Linked DNA regions of Homo sapiens: region 2 is linked to region 1. Evidence: promoter capture Hi-C in 16 types of primary human blood cells and fetal thymus (Javierre and others, 2016). All regions are on one chromosome and are shown on one strand. The core of a region is centred on a gene start or on the middle of the fragment in contact, and the rest is flanking DNA. Distances in the headings are between cores, read along the strand shown.

Region 1 (6,387 bases), core at 293-2,792:
CCTCTTCTAATAAAGCCACATGTTCTCTCCCATGACAACCCATTAATCCATGAATAGATCAAGGGTTTTGCCCTCATGATCCAATCACCTATTTAAGGCCCACCTCTAAATACTGCCACATTAAAGATGAAGTTTCAACATGAGTTGTTTGTTTTTTTTTTTTTTTTTGAGACGGAATTTCCCTCTTGTTGCCCAGGCTGGAGTGCAGTGGTGCAATCTTGGCTCACCGTAACCTTCGCCTTCCAGCTTCAAGTGATTCTCGTGCCTCAGCCTCCCGAGTAGCTGAGATTACAGGCACGTGCCACCACACCCAGCTAATTTTTGTATTTTTAGTTGAGACGGGGTTTCTCCATGTTGGTCAGGCTGGTCTCGAACTCCCGACCTCAGGTGATCCGTCCACCTCGGCCTCCCAAAGTGCTGGGATTACAGACGTGAGCCACGGCGCCAGCCCTCAACATGAGTTTTGGAGAAGACAATTATTTCAAACCACAGTACCAGGAAAAGTGCAAAAAAAAAAAACCAAGGCAGAACAATTATGTGGTGTTGCTTGTGAGAGGTAAAATTTTATTTTATTAATATTTGCTTGTATTTGCAGAAATTCTATAAGAATACATGAGTATTGAATGTTATACAAACGCAGGCGACCATATAATCTTCCATTGAAATGGAACGGTTTCTAGAATGAAAGGGAGGATGTTATTATTATTATTATTATTTTTTGAGACCGAGTCTCGCTGTGTCTCCCAGGCTGGAGTGCAGTGGCGCGATCTCGGCTCACTGCAAACTCCGCCTCCCGGGTTCACGCCATTCTCCTGCCTCAGCCTCCCGAGTTGCTGGGACTACAGGGGTGCACCACCTACGCCCGGCTAATTTTTTTGTATTTTTAGTAGAGAACGGGGTTTCACCGTGTTAGCCAGGATGGCCTCGATCTCTTGACCTCGTGATCCGCCCGCCTCGGCTGCCCAAAGTGCTGGGATTACAGGCGTGAGCCACCGCGCCCGGCCGAAAGGGGGGATATTAATCATTACTCCAGGACGACAGAGGGAAAATCGCTTTGTACTGGACAAACTGGAATGTCTGACCAACCATTATAAAGTGCACGGAGTGGGAGGAGGAATAGGGACATTTTAATTGTATTTCTAAAAAGTATCTTCTGTGGTGAATCGGAAACAAAACTCATTCTTTACCACAGGCAGTTTAAGCGCTGCCTGAAAGATCGAAGGACGGTAAACCACAGACGTGAGAAACGGAACTTTGCGAAAACGCAGTCGTTTTATGTACCGGCTACTCATTGGAGTTACACCAGAGACTCACTACTGGAGTTCATCAGCCAATCCAAAGTCCAAGCGTGAGAGCCAGAGCCTGTAGGAGAGACCTGGGCAGGCCTCAGACCTGAGGAGTGGAGCTCCGCATCACTCAACCCTGGGGGCGGAGCTAGCCCAGGCTCCCACACCCGACGCTCTGGCCCACACAGACGCTACTCTGTAGCATCTCAGGTTCCCTCTGGCTGCACTCTGGAGGACCACACTCGTTTTCTTTTTGGCTGCCAGAGGCCCCCGCATCCACCGCTGAGCTGGGAGAAAGATGGCGGCAGCCGTGCGACAGGATTTGGCCCAGCTCATGAATTCGAGCGGCTCTCATAAAGATCTGGCTGGCAAGTGAGTATTTCCCAGGAACGCGGGAGTACAGAGGTGGGGAAAGAAAGCCACAGCCTTAATCTCCTTAGGTTGGCCACGGCTCTTGGGCGTGAAGCTAGGAGCCGGCCTGACGTCCAAGGGGGCGGGCCTGAGGTCGGCTGGGGAGGCAAATGTTGGGAGAAGCAGAAAGCTGGAGGGGACCTTGTGCAGGGGCCTTCGAGGCTATAGACTTGAAATGATTGTCAGCTTGTTCAGTTCTTGATAGAATCTTTCTGGTCCCTTAGGATTTTGGAACAGCGGTCTGAGAGACGACTGCTACCCTGGCCTTAGTAGCCTTCCCTGGTACCTCTTCCCATCGCTGGCCGGCCTCACACCGAATCTGGCCTCTCTTTGGACCTTCCTCCTCTTTTTTTTTGATTCAGAGAAATGTATATTCTGGGGCCTTGATGCTGCGTTTTTCGGGGAGATGGCTTCTTGGGGCTGGCTGAGGTTGAGGCGGTATGGCCGCTGTCATGTCGTCCAGACCATTCAGACTGTCTTCTGTGGGTCCTTGTGTTTCGGGTATTTTCTCTGCCACCAACTCTGATGGCACATAGGCGGAATGTGCTCATATCGTGGGTCAGGATGTCTACAGTAGTGATGTTTGCAGGAATCTGAATTTTGTCGAAATTTATATAGAATGCTTAGGTTCACTCCAAGTTAAAATGTGTGACGTGCCTGTTCTGCAAGCAGTTGTCAACAGTATTAAGCATAGGTAGGTAGACGTATATTGTTCATTTTCTCTTTGTAGATGTCACAGCATTTCTCTTTTGTAATGAACATGCTTTCTGTTTAAAGTATGCCTCTCTAGGCCGGGTGCAGTGGCTCACGCCTGTAATCCCAGCACTTTGAGAGGCTGAGATCACTTGAGGCCTGAGAGATCTGAGAGGGAGGATCACTTGAGGGCAGGAGTTCTAGACCAGCCTGGGCAACATAGTGAGACCCCCCCCCCCGCCGCCACCCGTCTCCGTAAATAAATAAGTAAATAAAGTATGCCTCTCAAGTTGATCTTAATGTTTACATCCTGACAGCTGAAATCACTTTGATGTATATTAATGGGATACACCTGTTCTAACCTGGTCATTGAAATTCTGACTGTTTTAAGTAGGCTAGGCTGCCTTTTCTCTGGTGGCAAACGTAATCTACTTTTATCAGTGGGAAATTCAGCCGTATATTTTGGGCTTAACTACTTTGTGCTGCATTTTCCCACTCAGGAAAATGAAGATAATAATAGGACTTATTCTTGTCTGACATTATCTGAGGACAAGATGAGTATGTGTGTGCATATATACTTACCACACTTATATCACGTAGAACAGTACCTGACATATAGAAAGTGCGGTAAGATTGTTGTTGTTACTATTAAGCTGTCAGTAAATATATATTCACTTATTGTATGGGTTGGAAATAAGTTAAATATGTCTTCATGGCTCAATCCTTTCTGCTTGTAATTTTTATATGGATGAAAGTAAAATCAGCTTATATTTTTCCCCATGCTTCCTTTACTTTTTATTTTGTTAAAGAAGAATAAGTGCATTAGTTATCAAAAGAAATAGAGCTTTGCAAGTATTTGCAGAATTCTGAAACTTAAGTATTTACTTCTTCAGGTCTGAATTGGAGATAAACAATAGTACTTAAAGCGTGCTTCAGTTATCTGTTGCTTTGTAACAAACCAAAAACTTAACCAGTGTAAAACAACTATGATTTCTCAGGATTCTATGGGTTGACTGGACTGCTTTGCTGGTCTTGTCTGGGCTCACTCATGCAGATATAGTCAGCTGGCAACACACCTGGGGCGGGACTCACATGCATATCTTGCTCTTGCCTGGATCTCTCTCTCTCTCTGCACAGTCTCTCATTCAGTAGTTTAGCTTGGGCTTTCTTAGGTGCCTATGAGAGGGGAAGTCGCAAGACCTCTTAAGGATAGCCTAGGAAGTCTCACGTCAGTTCTCTAGTACTGGTCAAAGTAAATCAGAAGACCAGCCCAGATTCAAGGGGAGGGGAAATGGAGCTTACTACTACCTCTTTAGTGGCAAAGTTACATTGCAAAGGAGCCTGGACAGAGGGAGACACGATTCATTGGAAGCCGTTACTGTAGCAGTCTACCACATGGTGTTATTGTGAAGATTAAATGAAATAATGTGCTTGATAACTGATAGCCAGTGCAGTCTTAGCCATAACTCCTTCAGAGCTGCTTTCTGAGAAAAGTCTTGGCCTTGCCTGCATTTCCTATGTGGGCAAGAATGTAGCAGGATATTTATCCTTACAACAACATCAGTTCTACCAGCTATATGCTTTAAGAGAAATACCCTTGAAATATATCAGTGTGTTTTTTTTTAATGTATTTTTTCTTGTATGTACTTTTAATGAAGGTTTTTGGGTGTTTTTTTTAGGAGCTGAGTAACAAAGGATTCCATATTAAAGAATAATGGAATACATTGTTTCTAAAACATCAATACTGTGTGTTCCTAGCAATTGGGATATCTGTAACAGTAGTTGTTCAATAAACGTGGTTGAATTAATGAATAGCTAGAAAGGGGCAGTGCTTGTATTTGAATCCAGGTTCATCTACTCTAAAAAGCTCATTTTAAACCTACCAGACTATGCTCGTTTTCTTGTTAAAAACTCAGTTAGAAATGCTTTCCCATAACTGTGAATTAACACAGCTGTCTAAAGTTTATATAAGAAATTAGCCAGAGGAAAAGCATTTCCTCCATTTTATAGGCTGCTTTTGTGCATATTATGCATTGTATTTATTATCTCACATAAAGCTTTAGAATAGGAGAGCCACAACGGAGGATAGACTTTATTGAGGATAGCCTCAAAGGCCCCTTCTAACTCAGATTCTGATTCTCTCTTTGTTGTCCCAAACACAACAGTTTTAGTGGTTTTCATCTCTAGAGTGAAAGTCAATAACATCTAGAGTTTACTGTGCGAAGCACAACATTACTTACATTTAAAAATCCTTAACAAGTAGGAGTAGGTGATAGTAGTGATATTATTTACATTATAATAAGAGAAAACCAAAGTACAGAGTTGAAATACCTTGCTCTGAGGTCACACAGCTAGTGGTGAAGCTAGAAGACAGTCCATATCTGCTTGCCTATGAGCCCTTAACTCTAAACAAACACATCTACCTTTTTGGCCTTATTTTCACAAAAAAAAATTGACTACACTTCAGATAGTGATTATTTTTGCCTAGAATGCCTGTCTTCCTACTGTTATTAAATTGAAATACTTAGAATGTTTAAAGATCAACCCCATCCAATGATTTCTCTCTCCTAAAAATTATATTAGCACTTACCTGTTTTTTTTGTTTGTTTGTTTGTTTTGTTTTGTTTTGAGATGGAGTTTCACTCTTGTTGCCTAGGCTGGAGTGCAGTGGCGCGATCTCGGCTCACTGCAACCTCTGCCTCCCGGGTTCAACCGATTCTTCTGCCTCAGCCTCCCAAGTAGCTGGGACTACAGGTGCATGCCACCACACCCGACTACTTTTTTTTGTATTTTTAGTAGAGACAGGGTTTCACCATGTTGGCCAGGATGGTCTCGATCTTTTGACCTTGTGATCCACCTGCCTTGGCCTCCCAAAGTGCTGGGATTACAGGCGTGAGCCACCGCGCCTGGCCAGCACTTACCTGTTTTTAAGATTTTGTCTTTAATTTTGTGTAGCTTCATTATGATATGTCTGTGGATTTGTTTTTACTTTTCTATGTCAGTTACCCTTTGCTGTGAAATAAACCCCAAAACTTAGGGCTTAAAACAACAGTCACTTATTTAGCTTATAATTCTGTAGGTTGGTAGTTTGGATTGGGCCCAGCTGTATGGTTCTTTTCTGCTCCACGTGGTCTTGGTTCCACATGGGCTCCCATGTGGGTCTATAGTTAGCTGCCAGCCAGGCCAGGTAGGCAGCTCTGCTTCTGTGGATTGGCTGGCTTGTTGGCTGGGGCAATATAGTTGACTGGGCTACATATCTCATTAGCCAGTATGTTAGTCTGAGCCTGTTCATGTGACAGCAGCAGGGTTCCAAAAGACAAACACATACAAGGCCTCTCGAGGTCTGGGCTCAGAACTAGCACTTCATTTCTACCACGTTTTATTGGTTAACCCCAGATTCAAGGGGTAGGGAAATAAACTCTACCTTTTGATATGAAGAGCTACAAAGTTGTATTGTAAAGGGACATGGGTACTGGGAGTGAAATTATATTGTGGCCGTTTTTTGTAAGCACTCTGTCACATTATCCTGGTTAAGCTTCACTGGGTTTCCTGAATCAATGGATTAAATCATTTCATCAGTCTTGAGATGTCTTCAGTTATATCTCTTTATTTTATTTTAGAGACAGGGTCTTGCTCTGTTGCCCTGGCTTGAGTGCAGTAGAGAGATCATGGCTTACTACAGCCTTAACATGCTTGGCTCAAGCAATCTTCTCGCCTTAGCCTCCTGAGTAGCTGGGACTATAGGCACGTGACACCATGCCTGGCTAATTTAAAAACATTTTTTTTGGTACAGATGGGGTCTCCCTATGTTGCCCAGGCAGGTCTCGAACTCCTGGGCTCAAGGGATTCTCCTGCCTCGGCCTACAAAAGTGTTGGGATTACAGGTGTGGGCTACTGTGCTTGGCCTGTATCTCTTTAAATGTTGCCTCTGCCCCATTCTGTTTCTCCTCTAGGCTCCGGTGAAATCCCTGTCAGGCCCACTGACTATAACCTCTAG
Region 2 (5,884 bases), core at 2,656-5,155, 600 kb before region 1:
GATAAACAACTGCCCCCCTCTCCCCAAACTTTTCTACTGCTTAGGGCAGTGTTTCCCAGCTACATTCATGGTAGTACGTGAGAGGATTTTTGTTGACTCAGCTTGAAACAAGGTGAGGAGTCTTTGGAGAATCACTGTCTTGCGTATATCAAGAGGTGGATGGAGGCTAGCCTTAGCCTTGGTGGCTCACACTTGTAATCCTAGCACTTTGGAAGGCCAAGGTGAGAGGATTGCTTGAACCTAGGAGTTCAAGACCAGCCTGCGCAATGTAGCATGACCTCGTCTCTACTAAAAATAAAAAAAGTTAGCCAGGTGTAGTGGCATGTGCCTGTGATCCCAGCTACTCAGGAGGCTGAGGTAGAAGGATCATTTGAGCCCAGGAGGTCAAGGCTGCAGTAAGCCATGATCGTGCCACTGCAGTCCAGCCTGGATGACAAAGCAAGACCCTGTCTCAAAAAAAAAAAAAAAAAATGGTGGATAGAAAGCACCTCTGGCCTCTGGGAGGAAGCTGTCCCACCTAGCTGGGAGGGACCTCACCTAGGATTCAGGAGACCTGGGCTGCCTACCACATGAGCCTTAGACAATCTGCTCACCCAGCCACCTGTTAGTTCCCTAAAGCTGGGACTGTCATGTTCATCCTGCTCTCACACAGAATATGTCATCGTCGTCATCATCATCATCATCATCCTATCGTTGTTGGAACCCAAAGAATCTGCATTAAGTAAATAATTCAGTATGGGCATGGTGGCTCACCCCTGTAATCCGAACACTTTGGGAGGCAAAGGTTGGAGGATCACTTGAGGCTAGGAGTTTCAGACCAGCCTGGGCAACATAGCAAGACCCTGTCTTAAAAAAAAATTATAAAAAAAGAAAGCACCTCTCACTTTGATTTCTGGTTCCTTATTTTTCTAGAACCTTCAGTATTGTGGCATTAGCATAATCTTTCCAGCCTAATCAATCCTTCTTTCCTTTCCCTCACATTTAATTGAATACCTGTCATGTTCCAGGATATGGTAGGGATCCAGAGTCCTTAAGACCCAGCTGTCACCCTCAGGTTCCTCAGGGAACCTAGAAAGGAAGACAGTTACATAAATAGGTCGCCTTTGCATAATCAAAGTCCTCTGTAGTCTCTCACTGGCTGTGAGATGAGAGTTCAACAAATTGGGTTTTCCAACTTTCTATCCCTCTCTTTACACTTTACATAGCTGAACATGCACATTCCAATCATGCCCTTTCTTGCTGCCACCATTCTTCCAGCTTGGAATGTCATACCTTTTCGTCTCCAAGTGTGGGTCCCATGCACTCATTAACTTAAAAAAAAATTACTTATTGTGCTAAGCTGTGGGAATATGGAAGTAAGAGCTACCTCTTCTTGTAAAGGACCTATTTAAGCAGGAATTTCAAAGTCCTTTCTCTTCGTCCTCTGAACTCATTGTCAGTACCATGTGTAGTATTTGCTACTGGAGCCAATAGCTGACTTGTGATGTTGGATGTGTGTCCTCTTTTTCAAGCTGTGTGGAAGGCTCCTCAAGGGCAGAGACCAGAGCCTCACACAGTGCTTACACATCAGGCATGCTGTAACATGCTGGGTGATGGTGATATGCATTCCGGAATGGGTGTGGGAGGGACTGGGATTCAGTTTCTTCCATACTCTGCAATCCTTGCTATTTCAGATTTCCTCAAGGTGGTACTCTATTATATTTGAACAATTTAACTGAAAGTGTTTCTAGAGTGGCATTAGAATTCATTGACTCAACATTTCCAAAACCTACAAGTTATAGAGGATGAAACCAGCTGATAATGGAAATTAAATGTCATAAAAGAGAAAATTTTATTAACAAAATTAAGATAAAAAGTGAAATATGTTATTTATAGAAACTTGCATCTGTTAATGTAAGACTAGAGGAAAGGTTTTTCTACCCCCCCAAATATTCTTCCTAGAAAATTAGTTCGCCCTGATTATAAAATTGCAGACAAAGAAGAGTATGATATAGAGAGTGAAAGCCCTGATATGCTCCTGCCATCCAGAGGTGACCATTAAGAGTTTGGTGAATATTCCTTCTGTTTTTTTCCCTAGGTACACAGTAAAGTCATACAGATCTTTGAAAGATATGTAGTCAGACTTATTGAGTAAAAGGGGTTGGGCATGGTGGCTCACACCTGTAATCCCAGCACTTTGGAAGGCCATGGCAAGGAGATTACTTGAGTCCAGGAGTTCAAGACCAGCCTGGGCAACATAGGGAGACCCCATCTCTACAAAAAATAAAAAATTGGCTGGACATGGTGATGTGCACCTGTAATCCCAGCTACTCAGGAGGCTGAGGTGGGAGGATCACTTGAGCCCAGGAGGTAGAGACTGTGGTGAGGTGTGATTGTGCCACTGCACTGCATGCAGCCTGGGTGACAGAGCTGGAATGCAGTGGCGTGATCGAAAAAATAACAATTTTTAAAAGGGGCACTGATTTTAAGCTATAACCCCTATATTTTAAATACATAGGCTGGATTTTATCTTGCTCATACAGACTTTTAAAATGATACCCTGTGTTTAGCCCTGAAAAGTGCTTACTTCTTCTTTGTCTGATGGGTCTTAAAATTTTCTATCCTTGCAGCTTACCCTGTGTTACCACTCCACTAAAGAAAACAAAGTATTCTTTTTTACAATAAAAGGTTATTTTTATATGAAACTTTGAATTTCACATTTATCAACTCATTTGATTTTCAAAACTGGTTTTGTTGGAGGTGCAGGTCAGAAGAGGAGTGGAAACCAACCTGCCCTAATCCTATTGCACCCATTTTCCCATCAGCTCACTAAAGAGTCGTGTGGAAAGTTGGTAGCTTTATCCTCAGAGGCCCTCCTGGATCCTCTCTGGACCTTTCCCAGGTGATACCATTTCAGGAAAATGGGTTTCTTTTCAAAGACAGAATGTCTTTAGGACAGAAAGGGGTTGTTTGCCTTCTAGGTATGTGCATGAGGGGTTCATTTCTTAGCTTGATTTTCTTTCCAGTGATTCATGATGTGACCTTCTAACAAGTTCCTTTTCTTAAGTCTAAAAAGTGTGGACCTGGTACCCCTTTACTGAGTAAAGAGAAACTAAGGCATGCGGTTTGGAAACTAATGGTAATTTCAGCATTGAGACCTTGGTGGGACTTTGGAGCTCACAATCAGACCAGTGTTTGACAGTTAAGCTTGTGTATACTTACTCCAGCTCTCTCTGGACTGGTCTTGTATGGGTCCAAGTCGTTGTAAGTTCAGGAAGGTAATTAGATCCCTTTGATGGGGGTAAAGAGTGGGATCTTTACCCCCGATCTGATACTGGGGAGATTCCAGGCATCTGACTCTATAAACTCAAAAAGAAAGACCTGATTGGTAAACTATAATCTCAGTTTGTTAATTTGTACTTAACCTTTATGTGCCTCTGAAAAATGGAGGAAGTAGTAGCACCAATTTCACAGGGTTATTATGAAGATTAAAATGACATTATCAGTAAGTTGAGTAAATTTTGAGTGCTTGGTGGTGGCAGTGGTGAGAAGTGATTGGATCTGAATATATTTTGAAGGTAGAGCTGATGGGATTTGCTGATGGATTGGTTGGATGTGGAGTTTGAGAGAAAGAGGAGTCAAAGATGACTCTAAGGTTTTTGGCCTGAGCATCTGGAAGGATGGTTCTGTCATTTACTGTGATGTGGAGATGTAGGGGGAGGAGGAGGATTAAGGGATGGAATCAAGAGTTTGGTTTCAGATGTGTTTAGTTTGAGATACTGAATAGACATGCAAGTGGGGATATTGGGTAGGCATTTGGAAAAGGTCCAAGCTAAAGGTAAGGATTTGGGGATCATTAGTATAAATGGTATTTAAAGTCATGGAATTAGGTAAGATCACAAAGGAGTGATTATAGATAGAAAAGAGAAGTGTTTGTCATAGTAAGTGCTCAGTAAATGTTGGCAGTTACTCCCATTACTATAACTACTTGAATTATTATTGCTGATACTTTATAGGAAATGTTACAGAACTACTGGGTGAACCATAATCTCTCATTTTCTTTGTATGAAACCTCTTTGGGGAATCAAAGCTATATTAGAAATTTCCATAGAGAATATGCTGTCAAGATCCAGGGAGTTAGATGATCCTGGTGAGTAGTGCTCCTTGAAGTCATTCACCCGTGAGAGCTGGATGGCTTCAGGTGTTGGGATTTGATAGGCCTGGGTTTGAGTCCTGGCTTTACTCTGCACCAGCAGCGAAACCTCTTTGAACCTCAGTGTCTTCCTCTATGAAAGAAGGCTTACTTTGCAGGGATGTTAGGCAGATTCAAGGAGATGAATGTGAATGCCTTCCTTTCCCCTCCACTGTTAAGGACTAGGACTCTGGGCCAGTCAAGTTCCCTTTCTGGAACTCATTGGAGATACTCTGTTTCTTTTGTGCTGCTTCTTAAAACCTTACTCCAATTACTAGCCCTCTTGTACTGATAACAATCCCTTGTTCAGTGTGATTCATTGCACTTAATTAGATAACAGTGTATCTTTTGTTAATTATAATTTAATCTCCTTAATGGGGCTATCTTTTGTCTTATCAGCACCACATTGATTAATTCATTTTGAATGCACATGTGAAATCTGATGTTCATTCCTAAGCTTTCAGTTTTCAACCTACACCCCTTGTATGGGTCCAGCCCTGTTTACTCCCATGAAGACGAGGACAGTAGGATTTTAATTCCTGAGACCATGTGGCCCCATGTGGCAGCCAGAACACAGAAACTTCTTGATAGCTCCTACTGTGGTCTTCAGGAAGCCTTTTTGAAGAGCAATTCTAATACCACAACTGCTGAAACTATCTGGCAGATGGCATGGACCACTCCAAAAAGTAGCAATTCTCGTTGTTAGAAGTATTTAAACAAAGCTTGGTGTATTAGTCTGTTCTCATGCTGCTAATAAAGACATACCTGAGACTGAGTAGTTGATAAAGGAAAGAGGTATAATGGACTTACAGTTCCACATGGCTGGGGAGGCCTCACAATCATGGTGGAAGAAGAAGGAAGAGCAAAGGGATATTTTATATGGTGGCAGGCAAGAGGGCATGTTCAAGGGAGCTCCCCTTTATAAAACCATCAGGTTGTCAGGTGTGGTGGCTCATGCCTGTAATCCCAGCTGTTTGGGAGGCCAAGGTGGGCAGATCACGAGGTCAGGAGATCGAGACCATCCTGTTTAACACGGTGAAACCCCGTTTCTGCTAAAAATACAAAAAATTGGCCGGGTGTGGTGGCAGGCGTGGTGGCGGGTGCCTGTAGTCCCAGCTACTCTGGAGGCTGAGGCAGGAGAATGACGTGAACCCGGGAGGCAGAGCTTGCAGTGAGCTGAGATGGCGCCACTGCACTCCAGCCTGGGCGACAGAGCGAGACTGCATCTCAAAATAAAATAAAATAAAGTAAAAACCATCAGATCTTGTGACAGTTATTTACTCCCAGCACTTTGAGAGGTTGAGATGGGAGGATCACTTAAGCCCAGGAGTTCACGACCCGCCTGGGCAACATAGTGAGACTGTCTCTACAAAAACAACAACAACAACAACAAAAATAAATTTAAAAAACCAAAAAAGCCTAATGTATTACATTTTCCTAATACTATTATCACAGACATCTGGCAGTAAACATCTGTGGGAAAACTACATGGGAAGGCTAACTTTAACAGAGAAAGATGCTAGGTGACAAGATCATCAAAGTAAGTGACTTTGAGCCAGGGAAGAAAAGTGGCTCAGCACAAATGTGGTCTTTCTTCAGACTGATCATAGTATAGCTGATTCACTACCTGTGCCGATAAAGCTCTATTCTCTTGAAGTCACAGTGTAGTCATTCTGATTGGAATTTGGATTTTGCTAAATTCTTCAGTCATTC

Evidence for each region. Contacts are between HindIII fragments. The CHiCAGO score rates a contact against its expected background, and 5 or more counts as called.
Region 2: a contact is called between a fragment that was not itself captured here and the fragment with the promoter of COPS4 in region 1, in 1 of 17 cell types (fetal thymus). The highest score is 5.1, in fetal thymus.

The regions. Positions count from the first base shown.
Region 1 is chr4:83,033,641-83,040,027 of GRCh38, forward strand. It overlaps COPS4 (COP9 signalosome subunit 4), which reads left to right and starts at 1,543. Exons shown (of 10, transcript NM_016129.3): 1 at 1,543-1,658. The coding sequence starts at 1,585. RefSeq lists enhancers at 1,063-1,182, 1,256-1,550, 1,313-1,662, 1,763-1,812, 1,853-1,912 and 2 more. The HindIII fragment of the contact is 6,632 bases long and covers 1-4,445 here.
Region 2 is chr4:82,436,234-82,442,117 of GRCh38, forward strand. All of the region lies in intron 1 of ENOPH1 (enolase-phosphatase 1), which reads left to right. Among named protein-coding and RNA genes, the nearest start is that of ENOPH1, 8.6 kb to the left of the region's middle. The HindIII fragment of the contact is 1,442 bases long and covers 3,185-4,626 here.